3 separate regions of the Homo sapiens genome follow, and all the other regions are linked to region 3. The links are contacts of gene promoters, found by promoter capture Hi-C in human tissues and cell types (Jung and others, 2019). All regions are on one chromosome and are shown on one strand. Each heading gives the region's core, a stretch centred on a gene start or on the middle of the fragment in contact. The rest is flanking DNA. Distances are from core to core; before and after follow the strand shown. Region 1 overlaps TNR (tenascin R). Region 2 has its middle 54 kb from the start of LINC01657. Region 3 holds the start of TNR (tenascin R).

Region 1 (4,456 bases), core at 1,573-4,072, 100 kb after region 3:
CTTCACTGAGTCGTGTTGGTTATCACGCCCATGACTTTTATGGAAGGCCATTTTAAGAATCAGCCACATGAAGAACATTTTCACATTTTCTTTAAAAACTGTTGTGGAAGATATTGTCCATTATGTCGTTCAATGTTCCTGATACAAAGATCCACATTATAAATTCCTCTTAGAATTTAATATCAAGAAAATGTTTGCTTCTCTTGGCAAAACAGAATGCTTCCTCTTAAGTAATCACAAAGATCCTAGACCTCAGAATGCTCCCTTTTCTGTTTCACCATGGCTGCCGGGAATCTTAAAGCCTATCTTCATGCTGGTGGCATCAACTATATATCCCTAAATTTGGAGCATAACTGTCCTTCTGCTTCATTTTCTTGGTCTCATCCTGTTGTTTTTATTTTAATTGTTTAATGTATATATGTGTTTTATTGTATGTTGATTAAAATAGTTTTGAAAGTAAGCAGTATGTAAATTATACAGATATTTTGAGGTCATTTAAAAATGTGTCATTTTATTATTGTTTTCAAATTACTTCATTTGTATCTCTTTAATCTTCTCAGCTAAAATTGTAATAAAAAATTCAGTTATACTTAACTCAGAGCTCTACACCCAGTTAGCACTCAATAAATACTTGCTAATTTGTTCATTTCATCATTGACTAATGGCTCATTCCCAAGACTCTGAAAGAAGGAAAAAGCTTAAATCATGTAAAAAAAATTAAAGTTTATTCACAAAGATGAAGTGAGAGAAAGAACAGTTTTCACACACTCTTTCCCTCCTCTGTAAATAAACAGGGCATCTGACACAGAAAGAAGATGTGTGACTTACTCAATGAAGGCTTGGATTCCAGTAGGAACTCCCAGCATGCCACAGCACTTCAAGACCAGAAAATGGATTCTACCTGTTTTAAGATTTCCTGTATTTAGCAAACATGCATCGAGTATTTACTGTGTGCCTGGCCCCATGCCAGGAGAAGGAAGACAGAATTGATGGGGAGTTGCCTAGCCTGGTTGCATAGAAAAGAAGACACAGATCCTCAGTGCCACAATTCACAAAATGGCCCAGGACATTGTCACCTTTCCCTTGGAGTTGTCCAGCTTTGTGGAATTGGATGAGGGCTGCTGAGGAATGGTGACAATGAGGAATTAACCACTGGTCTACTTTATAACATATGTCCTCACACAGTTCAGTTTTTCTTCATCTTCCAACTGTTGGATCCAACTTCCAATACCACCACGTCTGTGGCCTTTCTGCCCACAGCCATAATCTGGTTAGACTGCGGTATAATATAGCTCACATCAAGGATAGAGAAACGTATTCTTGATTGCAGCTGGGGGTTATGAGAAGGTGACACTGATTAGATCTGCAATAAACTGAGACCAGCTACCTCAGAGCTAAACAGCCTGCATTGCCAAGGGAGGAATGGCGTGCTGTTGGACAATGTGTCTGTTGATGCACATTTTCATAAATTGTTTACTGACCCTGTGGGGTAACATAAATACTTAGCAGCTAACACACCCCCTAATTTGTAGTAACAATCTCTCATCACATGCATACTATTAACATATTAGGCAATACACATTTCTGTACTTTGACTTTTTAAAGTAATAATGTTCTTGAGGAAATAGAAAATCATGATCACAATTTATTTCAGAGGGTGTTTAGTAATTTACCATGCATCTGTGAAATGTTACTTAATCCTGGGTGGTCTGTGTGCATAATTATGTTTTAATTTGCACATGATTGCTGACTTTCATATCACTTAAACAATCAGGATGCATCAAATGACTGGTTGTTGTCTTATAACATTTTGTTTTCCCCTTTGGAACTATTGGAAAGAGACCATCACATCCCACAACCATCTGTGATATCGCCTGTGTATTGCTGAATATTGAATAGATATTATGAGTATTGAATTTGGCATCATTTCTGTGGTCATATTTCTATGTGATTTTCATTGCCTACTGAAAAGAAAATGAAAAGAGGAAGGAAAATAATTAAAAGTTCTCTAGGCTCTGCAGAACCACCCTTGCATTTCTAGATTTTTCTTTTTCCTAGATCCTTCAAACAAACCATCCTTTATTTTGTTTTCCCTTCCTATAATAATAACAGCGTCTTGTCTTTGCATAGTATACATATTTTAAAGGCATTGTCCAACAAAGCACCGTGTCTGGTTCTCACATTGACTATGAGGTGGATGAACAGGCCATGGAAATCTCCACTGTGTATATGAAGAAACTGAGGCACAGGGCGTTGGTGACTCATGGAGACAAATACCACTGTGGCCCAGTGATGGTTTAAAAGCCAAAAACTCCTGATTCCTTTCCAAACACTTCCCACTCAGTAGCACTGCCTTCTCATCAGAGGCTGATAAGATGTCACATAAGTCCTCTTACAACTGAGAGGAGCATGGAGCATAACTCCAGGATATCAGGAGTGATTATGGAATTGGGTGTGAGGGACCAACATTATCTGAAAAGAGGTGCAGGCCAGGAATATAGACATGCTTCTCCTTCTGGGTTCCCTCAGTGCATCATCGCTCATGAGAAATGAGAGAAACATCATTGTTTCCTTCACCTCTCACCCAATAGATTATAAAATTCTATTAACGTTTCTCTAGTGATTCTCAAAACTATCACTTGCCCCTCTTTCCAGTTGTCATTATCCTATTTTAGGCTCAATACTTGCTTTTACATATTATATATGTGCATTTCTTATATATGGTTTTAGAGATAGGATGTTGCTCTGTCACCCAGGCTGGAGTGCAATAGTGCAATCATAGCTCACTGCAGCCTCAAACTCCTGGGCTCAAGTGATCCTCCTGCTTCAGCCTCCTGAGTAGCTGGAATTACAGATACATGCCACTGCGCCTGGCTAATTTTTTATTTTTTGTAAAGATGGGGTCTCACTGTGTTGCTCAGACTGGTCTCAAACCCCTGGCCTCAAGTGATCCTCCTATCTTGGCCTCCCAAAGTGCTGGGATTACAGGTGTGAGACACCGCAGCAGGCTGAGGCCCCATCCTTTCTGACAGACATTACAACAGCCTAGCCAGTTCTCCAGGTCTTCACTCTCCCCGCAATCCTTGCACCGCATCCTGGCTGCCAACCTCAGCCCTTCCTCTACTGCACTGCAAGGTTGACATAGACTGTAACTATGACCATGTCACTCCTCAACTTAAACCACTTTAGTAATTCCTCATTGCTTACAAAAAGCCCAAGTTCCTATCATAACCTGGCTTCTGGGTTCTTCTCCAGAAGAATCTCCTGTGACTCCCTGCCTCTAACATTAAGTTTCAGTAACATGCCAAGTTTCCTACAGTTTCATGCTTCCTAGCTTTTGCATATGCTATTTCCTAAGTTTGCAACACTTTTTCTCCCCCACCACAAACACATAGCACGTGTGTGTATGTGTGCACACAATGCCTATACACTTTTCACATACTCTGGTTATCCCTTGTGGACTGGGGGCGGGTGGTGGGGGAAGTGTTCTTCAAGATTCAGTTCACAAATCTTCCCTTCTGGTTGTCATTTCTTATCCATTTGGGCTGAGTTGCAGGCCCCTTCACTTTTCTGGCAGAGTGTCCTTAAAGGATGATATGGTTGTGGATTAGGATTACCGGGTCTGCCTCTCTGTCTCCTCTGATTATGACCTACTTGATAGCAGGGACAGGGTTTTATTAATCATCATAGCATTAGCTTAACAGTATCTAACACCTATTAGATTCCAAATAAATGTCTTTTAAACTGAACCGAAGTACATTGGCATGAAAATTACATTTTCTTCCTGTACTGATAGACTCCAGCACCTCGGATAACTCATTTATTTAACCTGCGCTATGAGGCTTTCCTAGTCAATAATTGACTAACACATCTCCCGCTTTGGTTTAATACAAAGGATCCTCAGCACGATCCTAGATCCTACACCAAGCCCATTTGTAACTTGACTTTATGAACAAAGGGCCATATTAGTGAAAAGTACTTTTTTATTCCAGTGTCAGACTTGGGAAGTTTATTTTCTTTTGTTTTATCCTAGCTAAAGACAAAAATATGTAAGGAGGGTCACTGCACTGTGGAGCAGCCTCCTTCTCCTACAGATAGGGTAAAAACTCTTTGCCCCATGAGCCATTCCATCCCATTGTACCTTCTCCACAGTAATAGAAGATGCCATTGAGTATATTAATCTTTACATTACTATGTCCTCCCTATAAGGACACTTAGGATAATTATTTGGTATTCTCACTTAGATACTTCTAGACAACTCATTTATTTTTATCTTATGAACAATGCAAACCACAAAATTGATGTTCTTTCTCTCTCCCTCACTTTCTTTCTCTCTCTCTTTTTTCTTTTTCCCCTCCTTCTCTCCAACCCTGCCCTCCGTCCCACCATTGGCTGGTAAAAAGCTTGAAATTAAATGTTTGTTTGGCCACTTGCTAGTATGTATGACCCCAGGGTA
Region 2 (4,655 bases), core at 829-3,328, 80 kb before region 3:
GATAATTCTTTCATGACCAGCTTCAGGGGAGAAGGTCAAAGGGGAAAGTCAAAGAGATCTTCCTGCTTCTGCTATTTTCTCAAATGGTAAGGTGCCATACTTGAAGGTAGTGTGTCCTGAACCCCATCACTTACTATCTCTTGGATCACTCTGAGTGAAGCCAGCCCCCATGGTCTGAGGACACTCAAGTAGTCCCTGGAGAGTTCCAAATAGGAAGGACCTATAACTCCTACCAACAGCTGGTAGCCGTGTGAGTAAACCATCTTGGAATGGATCCTCAATCTCCTTCAAGCCTCCCAGTGACTGCCTGCAGCTCTGGCTGGCAGCTTGACTGGAACTTCAGGAGGTACCCTGAGCTAGAACCATCCAGCTAAGCCACTTTCAGAGTCCTGACACTTAGAAACTGTGGGCAATAATAAATGTTTACTGTTCTTGGGAGCTGCTAAGTTAAGGAGTATCTGATATGCAGTAATAAATGACTAATATTGTCATTTTACATAGCATACATAAAAATGGCTAACCTGGTCTCTCAGGTTACTGCCTATAGCTATTCATCAACTTCTCCTCACCTGGCCATGTGTCTAAAATTCTTGCACTTGAAGCTCATTCCTTTCTGAACATCAATTTTCAGTATCATCATCTTGAAAGTCAAACTCCCCTGTATGTGCTTTATCTCAACCCTTAAGCTGCAATGAGTTAACCTCTAAATGGACATTAGTTCATAGCCGGTTGATAGGAGAGTATAACTGGGAGATAGGACTTGTGGTTAAGAGATGGGAACAAACTTTGGCTGTTGATTAGAAAATAACCGAGTGTAGATTTAGAGTCAGGAAATCCAGATAGACTTCTTGTTTCACCTATGAGCCTGTGATTATGTGCAAGCCATGTAACTTCATGAATTTTAGTTTCCTCATCTGTACGATGAGAATAATGAAAGTATCTAACTCACAGTCACCCCCACCACCCCTGCCCCCCATATACACTCTCCTTCATCCCCAGTCCCAGTGAGGATAAACAATGATAAGACACATGAAAATACTTTATACACCAAGAAGGTTCACACAAAAGTTATCTTACTTAGCAAAAAAGTCAGTCTCCTAGGGTGGAGATAGGTGGGCTCTGCCCCCATTTATTAAGTACTTTTTCTGTGGCATTCATTATTAAGAGCAGGAACATAAAAATGAATAAGTTTCCTATCCTCAAGGGGTTCACCATACTGACAGTGATAAATAAGACAAGAGGCTATTACTTTAAATGTAAAAAGTGCTAAGCACACAATAATTGATTCATTTCTTCATCAAATATTTATAGAGTGCATTGCCCCACAGGTAAATGTGCTGGGTGCTACTGATACATGAACAGTTGATTAGCAAGCCCATTGAGACAGCTGCCAGCAGGAGGCGTCACTGAGCTGAGTCATAAAGTTTGGGTAGGAGACAGTTCAGTGAAGTTTAAGGCTAAGGGTACCACAGGCAGGATGAATAAGGGCATGGAGGCGAGCACCAGCATGGTGACATAGGGCAACTTCCCTCAATTCAGTGATGATCAACACCCTTGAGAAAAACTCTCCCGAAGATAACTGGAGAGGATAGGGGCCTGGCTGACCCAGAGCCCTGTTTAGCTGGTTTACATCAGGTCAGTGGCATGCCTGATGTTCTCATTGGGAATGCCTGTCAACTCCCAGTTACCCATCAGTGTGACCTCAGCCCCAGGCCTCTTGACCTTGCATGCTCATGGGCCCTTTTGCACTATGAATAACTTAGAGAATACCAACTAACTTAAATATTAGACTAACTGATAATTAAGTTAATTAAGCTAATAATTAGGAGGATGGATTTATTGTGCAAGAAGTCATCCAGTGTATGCCTAGGCCAATTAAAATTAAAATTAAAATTAATTGCTGTTTGGGGTTCCCTGTATCTCTGACCCTGCTATTGGCTCAGACCATCCATCCTTGACTGTGCCCATTAAGGAAGCCCCTTTTCCTTCATGCTCATGTGTGCTGCTCAGGGCTTACAGCTGCTGAGATGGTAAAGTGAGAATAGGTGTCCTTTGGGGTCACAAGCCTATTATCTGATGCAAAGAAGTGTCTCATTGCCTTCAAATGAGCAAAATAAAAGATCAGCTGATTTTATTTCCTCATCAAGATGGATGATTTCCAAGTGTTGAAACTGAACTTGATGATTAAAACTCATTTCCTTGCAAAACCCAGCCCTGGAGGTGTCATCTTCCTTGGCTACTATACCCAGCCCTTGGTGACATGTGACTTGAGCTCAATGTGAATGGGCATTTAATTTGATATCCAGGATAATGTATCCCCACAAAGTACAGAATCCCCTAAATAAATAAAATGGGCTTATTATTCACTGGGTAGAGTTATCCAGACACCCTTGGATACAAGATGGAGCAGAAACCAGACAAATAAACGGATATTAGCAGTCTGACACTTTTGCCCAAATAAGACTCACTTTTTTGAAGGATCAATCTTCTGGGCAAGGACCCTGAGGATTTTGTGTCACTCCTGCTGATCTTTTACACACAGATTTCTTCCAGTTATGGTTCTGACTGACCTGCTGTGCTCCAAGTAAGTTCTTCTTTGGACAACAAAAGGAATATGAATCTTCATGCTGATGGGGGGAGTAGATGTTAGCTTGTCTCTTTGGGTTGGTCCATTTCAGAACAGCTAAGGTCCTTGTTGTAAACTGCATATGGGACTTGCCTTAGCCCAGCTCTGGGTCTCTGTCTGAGGCCCAGATCAGCTTGTCCTACTTTCCTCTTTCTTCACTAGAGGTCCAGGAACTCAGCTGCCCAAAACCAGCCCTGGGGGTCTTGACCCCAGGGCAAACACTCTTGCCCTGGTGGTCTTCCTGTCCCTGGAATTCCCTGTGAAAAGCAGTGCTGCCATCTCAGTTTCCTCCCTCCTTTTTGCTCCCAGAATGACAATTTCCCAGGGCCCCTTTGGTTTCAGTCATTTGCTGCAAATCCTGAACTTCAGCCCTCAGGTTTTATTCCAAGGGCATGACTCACCAACCCCAAGACATTTGGCTTTCAAACTGCTAAATGATTCACGCAGAATAAGAAGCCCCATAGCATATGTAGTTGAGATTTGTGCCTCTGCAAAATTACACATCTTCACTTGACGGGTCTTTAGGGCTGTTGGTGAATGGTGCAGGTGATAATGTTGGTTTCTTAGATATCAAGGGTCTGTTGAATCAGAGTTGGGCCACAGGATATAGATAGGAAATAAGGATTTGGTGGGGAATGTCTGCCAGTATTATTTCTCTATGTAGAGGATAACAAGCATGACCAGATATCAGCCCTAAGAACTTTCCCCTCTGCATCCTCTGCCCTTGCAGTGATGCCCTCACCTCTTGGGCAGCCAGCAGTGCTTCAAGCCCCCTTGCTTTTGTATCCAAGTCTTCCATTACACTTCATGGCATGAGGCACCTACTTGTCAGGTGGCTATTTTGATTTATGGAGACTTTGTATGTGGATTTAGTGTAACTTAACTGGGAGAACCAATTGCTGGTGTGTAGGAAAAAGAAGGAAATGTTAGTTACCAGTTGGGAGATCCTTGTATGGAAACTGAACACGTGAGACCAAATACAGGGGGATAAGGCAAAAGGCTGTAGTAAAGCCATGTGAGAGACAGTGAAGGCTTGAAATAGGGCAGCAGTAGTGGGGGTTGAGAGGAGGAAATAGTTAGGAGAGAAGCTTAGTGAAGTCATCAGAACCTGGACAAGGTATTTGAAGATTTCATGGTCTCTGGCTGAGGCAGTTGAGTACAGTGGTGTCTTTTTAGCTAATGGAGATCTAAGAAGGATGAGGTGTGGTTGGGGGAGTATTAAGAAGTCTCTAGGTGTGGTGAAACTGGAAGTTAAAGGGGTTCTGATTAATAGTCTTTTTAATTTTTGCATATATGTTTTATCTGGCCATTTTACTGGACTTCTTTCTGATGAGATTAATGCATTCAGTTTTGGATATGTTTGAGTATCTTCGTCTGCACTTGAGAATTAGAAACCTGGGCTGGGAATAATGCTTGGGAGCTACCCATGAATAGAAGTGGTTAAAGGCCTGCATTTGAACAAGATCACTTAGGAGGAGTGTGAGTCCTGAAATGAGAAGTGAAAAGACTGAAGAAGGGATCCTGGGAGAGGAGAATGAGCAACTGAAAAAAAAGCAGTACAGGAAAAAAAAAAAAAAAAAAAAAGGAAAAACCATGGTGTCCTGGAAGATAAGGGAAGGGAAGTTTTAAGGAGCCAAAGGCTGAGTGTTAAATGGTGGGAGAAAAATTAAGGTCAAAGTGAAAAAATTTCCTTTGTATTTGATGTTTGGGAAATTGGGGAGATCATCAAAAGTAGTTTCAGGACATAGAAGAGAAGTAGAAATATATTAGGTTGGCTGAGAATAGCCAAGACAATCTTGGATAAGAAAAATAAATATTTTCAATAAATGACCCTGGGTCAATTGGATAACCAAGTAAACATTAATTCTGGATTCTCTGTACACCAATTTAAAAAATCAATTACAGATATATAGTAGGGAAAACGACAAGGCTTTTTGAAGACAATGGCGCATCATATTTTCATGATCTTGGTGTAGGCAGATATTTCTTAAAGAGAGCACAAAAATGACTAAATTTAAATAAGAGAAAT
Region 3 (4,284 bases), core at 365-2,864:
AGAAATTGAGTGATGTGTCTTCTGAACTGATGTTAAAACCCAATAGTTTCCAATTTTATAAGATTTAAAGCCAGTTTTGTATATGTGAAACTACCCAAATCACCAAGAGAATTAATTTTCTTAGGAGATTCTCATCGGTAATAGCAATTTCCACAGTTTGTTTGGCACCCCTAGTGGTAAATATTTTATTTTAAAAACTCAGCCACATATAAATTTATTGTAACAATCTAGGCACTTTGTCATAAATAAAAGCAATGATAACTGTGGTGCTATCTTCTATTTACTTCAAATGTCACTCCTGAAGTGTACATTTATAGAACATGGTAATTCAATGAGGAAGCTCCAGGGTCAGATGGCTCAGGTTCCATTACCATCCCTGACACTCACTAGTTGTGTGATCTTTGGAAAGTTATTTCATTCCTCTGTTACTCAGTTCCCAGTCTATAGAGTAGCAATAATAGCCTCTGCATTATAGAGTTATTGTATGGCTTAAATGAGCTAATACATGTAAGGGCTTATAACAGTGCCTAGCACCTGGTATAAACACTCTATAAATGTTAGCTATTGTTATTTGCCAGGAGTGAATCAAATATAAGAAGAGTGTTTGTATAAGATTACCTTTAAATTCCCTGCCAATCCTGAGGTTCTATGTTTCTATATCATTCCAGTCCCTTAGCATTCCTATTCAGTAGGGAGGGGGCAGCATTATCCACATTTTACAAACAGTAAAATTGAGCCATAGAGAAGCAAAATGTCCAGTAAGCAAGTGGCAGTCTGAAACCAGGACTCAGATTTTTAGATGTAAGTATTAGGACTCTTTCCGGGAGGCTGTGTGGCTGTACATTTAAAAGAGAATGTTAGATATCCCTTATGAGCCTATGAGCAGTGACCCCTTGATGCCCCTTCTCTGCCAAGGTTCTCCATAAATGTGCATCAAGGTCACTTCTGTCTCTACTTCTGAGATGATCTCAGGCCATATCTTTTCAGATATTTTTCTTACTAGCTTTACAAAAAAGCTATATTGTGGAGTTGGATGAAGGGCCAGCTCCCTGTATCCTCTGCCTCTTTAGGCATTCCCATGCCTGGGTTGTGCTACGTATACACATACTTCACCTGGCTGCAGACGCTGACTTTTTGGAGGGTTCCTTCTGCTGAGCCCGGACCTCAAACCACTTGAGAACCCCACAACTGACCTTATTCCAAAACATTCTATCCCAACCCATTCCACCCTGGATTTCTCCTTCAATCATGGGCAAAGGATCTGCAAAAGCTTCCATCCTCTCCCTTTCTCTTCTTATCTGGGTTGGTCAGAGGGAAGCCTCTATCTTCTTCAGGACCCTGCCTATGCAGAGGCAGCTCCAAGAGTTGGGTGCGGGGAGTATTTCTGTGCCTGAATCTGGACTGTTCAAGAGGATTTAGGATGCTTTTCTTTTCTGTCCACTAGGGGGCTGCTTGTAGGGGGATGGAAAAAACGGAGGCTTAAAAAAATCATGCTGCTGAAATTTCAGCAAGAGGGGAAAAGAGAGAGCGCGTGAGAGAGAGAGAGAGAGAGAGAGAGAGAGAGAGAGAGAGAGAGAGACAGCAAAGCAGTCCCAGGCTTCCTCCTCTCTTTCACGTCAGAGGCAGGAACCGACTGTGCTAAGGCTGTTGGCTCAACACCCAGAGGAGACGGGCAGACCCAGGGAGAGTGAGAGAAGGGGGTCCTCTCTGACCCAAGGAATTACCACTAGTGGAGTGAAGCCACCTGACTTTTTGATCTTATTTTGGTTGCCTCCTCATTCTCCTTCCACCCGTAGCCCTGACAGCTTGGGTTTCATTTCTTTCGTGGAGCCTTGTCTCTTCCTCCCAGAATAGGAGGAAGGGAAGAGAAGGGAAAGAGGAGGGCTCTCTAGGTGAGCGCATCAGCTGGCTCCAGCCTGAGCAAGCAAGAATTTTCTTCCCAGGAAGCTCCTCTCGCTCCCCGGCCGCCCACCCCCAGCCTGGGTAAGTCCAGAGCACTCGCTCCTTTGATTTTCTGGCTAACGTGATTTCAGCACCAAGGAGAGCTATGAGATGCATTTTGGTTCCTGTGTATCTGTGTGTTCTGCAAGGCATTTGGCACTAGGGTTACATCTATTTCTCTGCTGCCAGTAGAGTCGGGTTCTGCGTAGGGAAAAGAAAGGCGCAAAACTATGTTTACCGAATTAAAGGGGGATTGGACTCTGGCCTTGCGGGTGTGTGTGTGTGTGTGTGTGTGTGTGTGTGTACTGTTGCATAAGACAGGTGAGGTCTGAGCTAAATTGCGGGTGGTTTCTGCGTGTCTCCATGTAAGGCTGTTCTTTTTGTCTGTAGATAAGCGAGATGGTTTGGGGAATTAGTCGTGCACCTTCTTTAACTCTCTCCCGACAAGCCATCCATGGTGGGAAAGAGTTGCAAAGGAAGCCTGGGGGGTTGGGAGTGGAGGTAGAGTTAAAAGTTACGCACCTCTGAGAGAGCTTTAAAGAGGTGCTTTGTAAAATGTCAGTTTCCTAGTATTCTCTGGGCTCTTGCTGTGGAGAGAGCCCAACCTGACCTTTTACTTTCTCTTCTGGTGTGAACCCATGGTAAGTGGGCAGGTGCAACAGGTGAAGCTCAGGCTGGGGCGGCTTTGGGGGGTTGAGGTCCCTTCTGACTTCATGGTGGTAGGAAAGTGCTAGTGTCTTGAGCTTTGCAGAGACTGGCTGGTGTGGGTTATATTACATTTGCAAGGAGGCAGGAGGTACCCTCCACTTTTATGCCATCTTTGGCTATGGGTGGTTGGAAAGAAGACAAAGTCTGTTCTGCCCTGTTTTCTGGGGCATTTGGCAGTGAAAAACAACTAAGAATAAAGGTTTGTCTCTATATGTCTAGGGTGAGCAGAAACAAAATTAGACTTGTCCCAGACTCAGGAGGGCTTGAAGTGGTACTCTGTTCTCCTCCAGCACTGAGAGGCTCTGCAAACAGGAGCTCATTATTACTTCTTTCTTCACTGCTGCTACTTTTTGCAAGGTATTACTCTGTCTCTCCTGCTTTCTGCCTCTCTGAAGTATGTTCAGTCAATTCCCTGCATCTGCTTTGGTATTGTCTTGGAGACACTATAGGCCTGCCCCTGCCCCATTCAGTCCTGGCCACACCTACCTGGTTGAGTCATTCAACAAGTGGTGTTGAGGATTTCCTTCAATCATTCAAGTCTCCGTGGAGCCAGCATCCTACAGGGAACTTGAAAGAGATGTGGCTTCTTGTAGGAGCAAGTCTTCCCTTGATTTAACCCCTAACTGTTTATGGTTCTGGTCACTTTCTTCAAGTGTGTTGAGACAGGGGAGATACATAGGCAAGGTGGGGTGGTTTCACTCTTTCCAACCCCAAATGGACCCTAGAATGGTGATTCTTTGTCTTATTTTTAATTCAGCACAATGGGCCCCTTCTCCAAGATGAAGAAAATACTCTCTGCCTCTGGCTGGGGAGCCTTCTGGGTGAGAGACACAGTTCTGAGTGAAATGGCACCACTTTTCTTTTTTACTATGCTTGGCATTGGATCCAGAAATCTTAGCATCTCCCTAGAGTGGCAGGAAGTAGAATGCATCCAGGAAGACAGTGAAGTCAGAGGTTGTAAGGGTAGGGAAGAAAGACTGAAATAGACAAATGCAGAGCATCAGAAACCAACACTGACTCATTCAGTATTTTAACATTCCAAACCTCCTGTCCTTGAAATCTTCCAGTTTGAACAAGTGAGTGGATAGATTTCTGCATGACACATCACTGAGGATTTTTAAAAAATTATGCCCTTGCAGTGGACCCTGTCCAAAACCACAGTTTATTACTGAAGTCACCATACTTAGTAGTCATTATCTCATTAATGCCCTTAAATTTTCTCTGAAAAAAAAGTGCTCAGTGACATTATTGGACCCATTTTATAAATGGAGAGACACAGACGCTTAAAGTGGGAAGCCAGAGGATAGCGAAAGCAGAAATAGAACTTCTAGCCTGCTAATATTCCCTCACCTAGGAAATGCAGTAATGCTCATGTGCAGGAGAGAAGGAATGGATTGCTCCCCATTGGATAGACTTGCAGCCAAAGCCTTTTAGGGAACTCAGTGTGGAGCAATGGCCTCTCTCTGGTGAAGAATGAGAATCAGCCAGAAGTCTCAAGGTGCTGCTGGCCTTTACTTCTCAGCTAAGAAGATGGCCAAGAGCCAGGTAAAGAGCTCTCTGGGCTTACTGCAAAGAGAGAACCCTGGGCTGGTGGCATCTAGGCTGAACTGATGTCGTGCACCTGATTGTCACATC

Evidence for each region. The method cuts DNA at HindIII sites, captures the fragments that hold promoters and counts their contacts. A contact is called where the count stands out against the background at its distance.
Region 1: a contact is called between a fragment that was not itself captured here and the fragment with the promoter of TNR in region 3, in 3 of the 25 tissues and cell types used here (dorsolateral prefrontal cortex, hippocampus and mesendoderm cells).
Region 2: a contact is called between a fragment that was not itself captured here and the fragment with the promoter of TNR in region 3, in 2 of the 25 tissues and cell types used here (mesendoderm cells and stomach).

The regions. Positions count from the first base shown.
Region 1 is chr1:175,641,204-175,645,659 of GRCh38, reverse strand. All of the region lies in intron 1 of TNR (tenascin R), which reads left to right. Among named protein-coding and RNA genes, the nearest start is that of TNR, 100 kb to the left of the region's middle. The HindIII fragment of the contact is 5,100 bases long and covers 273-4,456 here.
Region 2 is chr1:175,821,141-175,825,795 of GRCh38, reverse strand. No RefSeq gene overlaps it. Among named protein-coding and RNA genes, the nearest start is that of LINC01657, 54 kb to the left of the region's middle. The HindIII fragment of the contact is 5,458 bases long and covers 1-4,655 here.
Region 3 is chr1:175,740,925-175,745,208 of GRCh38, reverse strand. It overlaps TNR (tenascin R), which reads left to right and starts at 1,614. Exons shown (of 23, transcript NM_003285.3): 1 at 1,614-1,983. The HindIII fragment of the contact is 10,162 bases long and covers 8-4,284 here.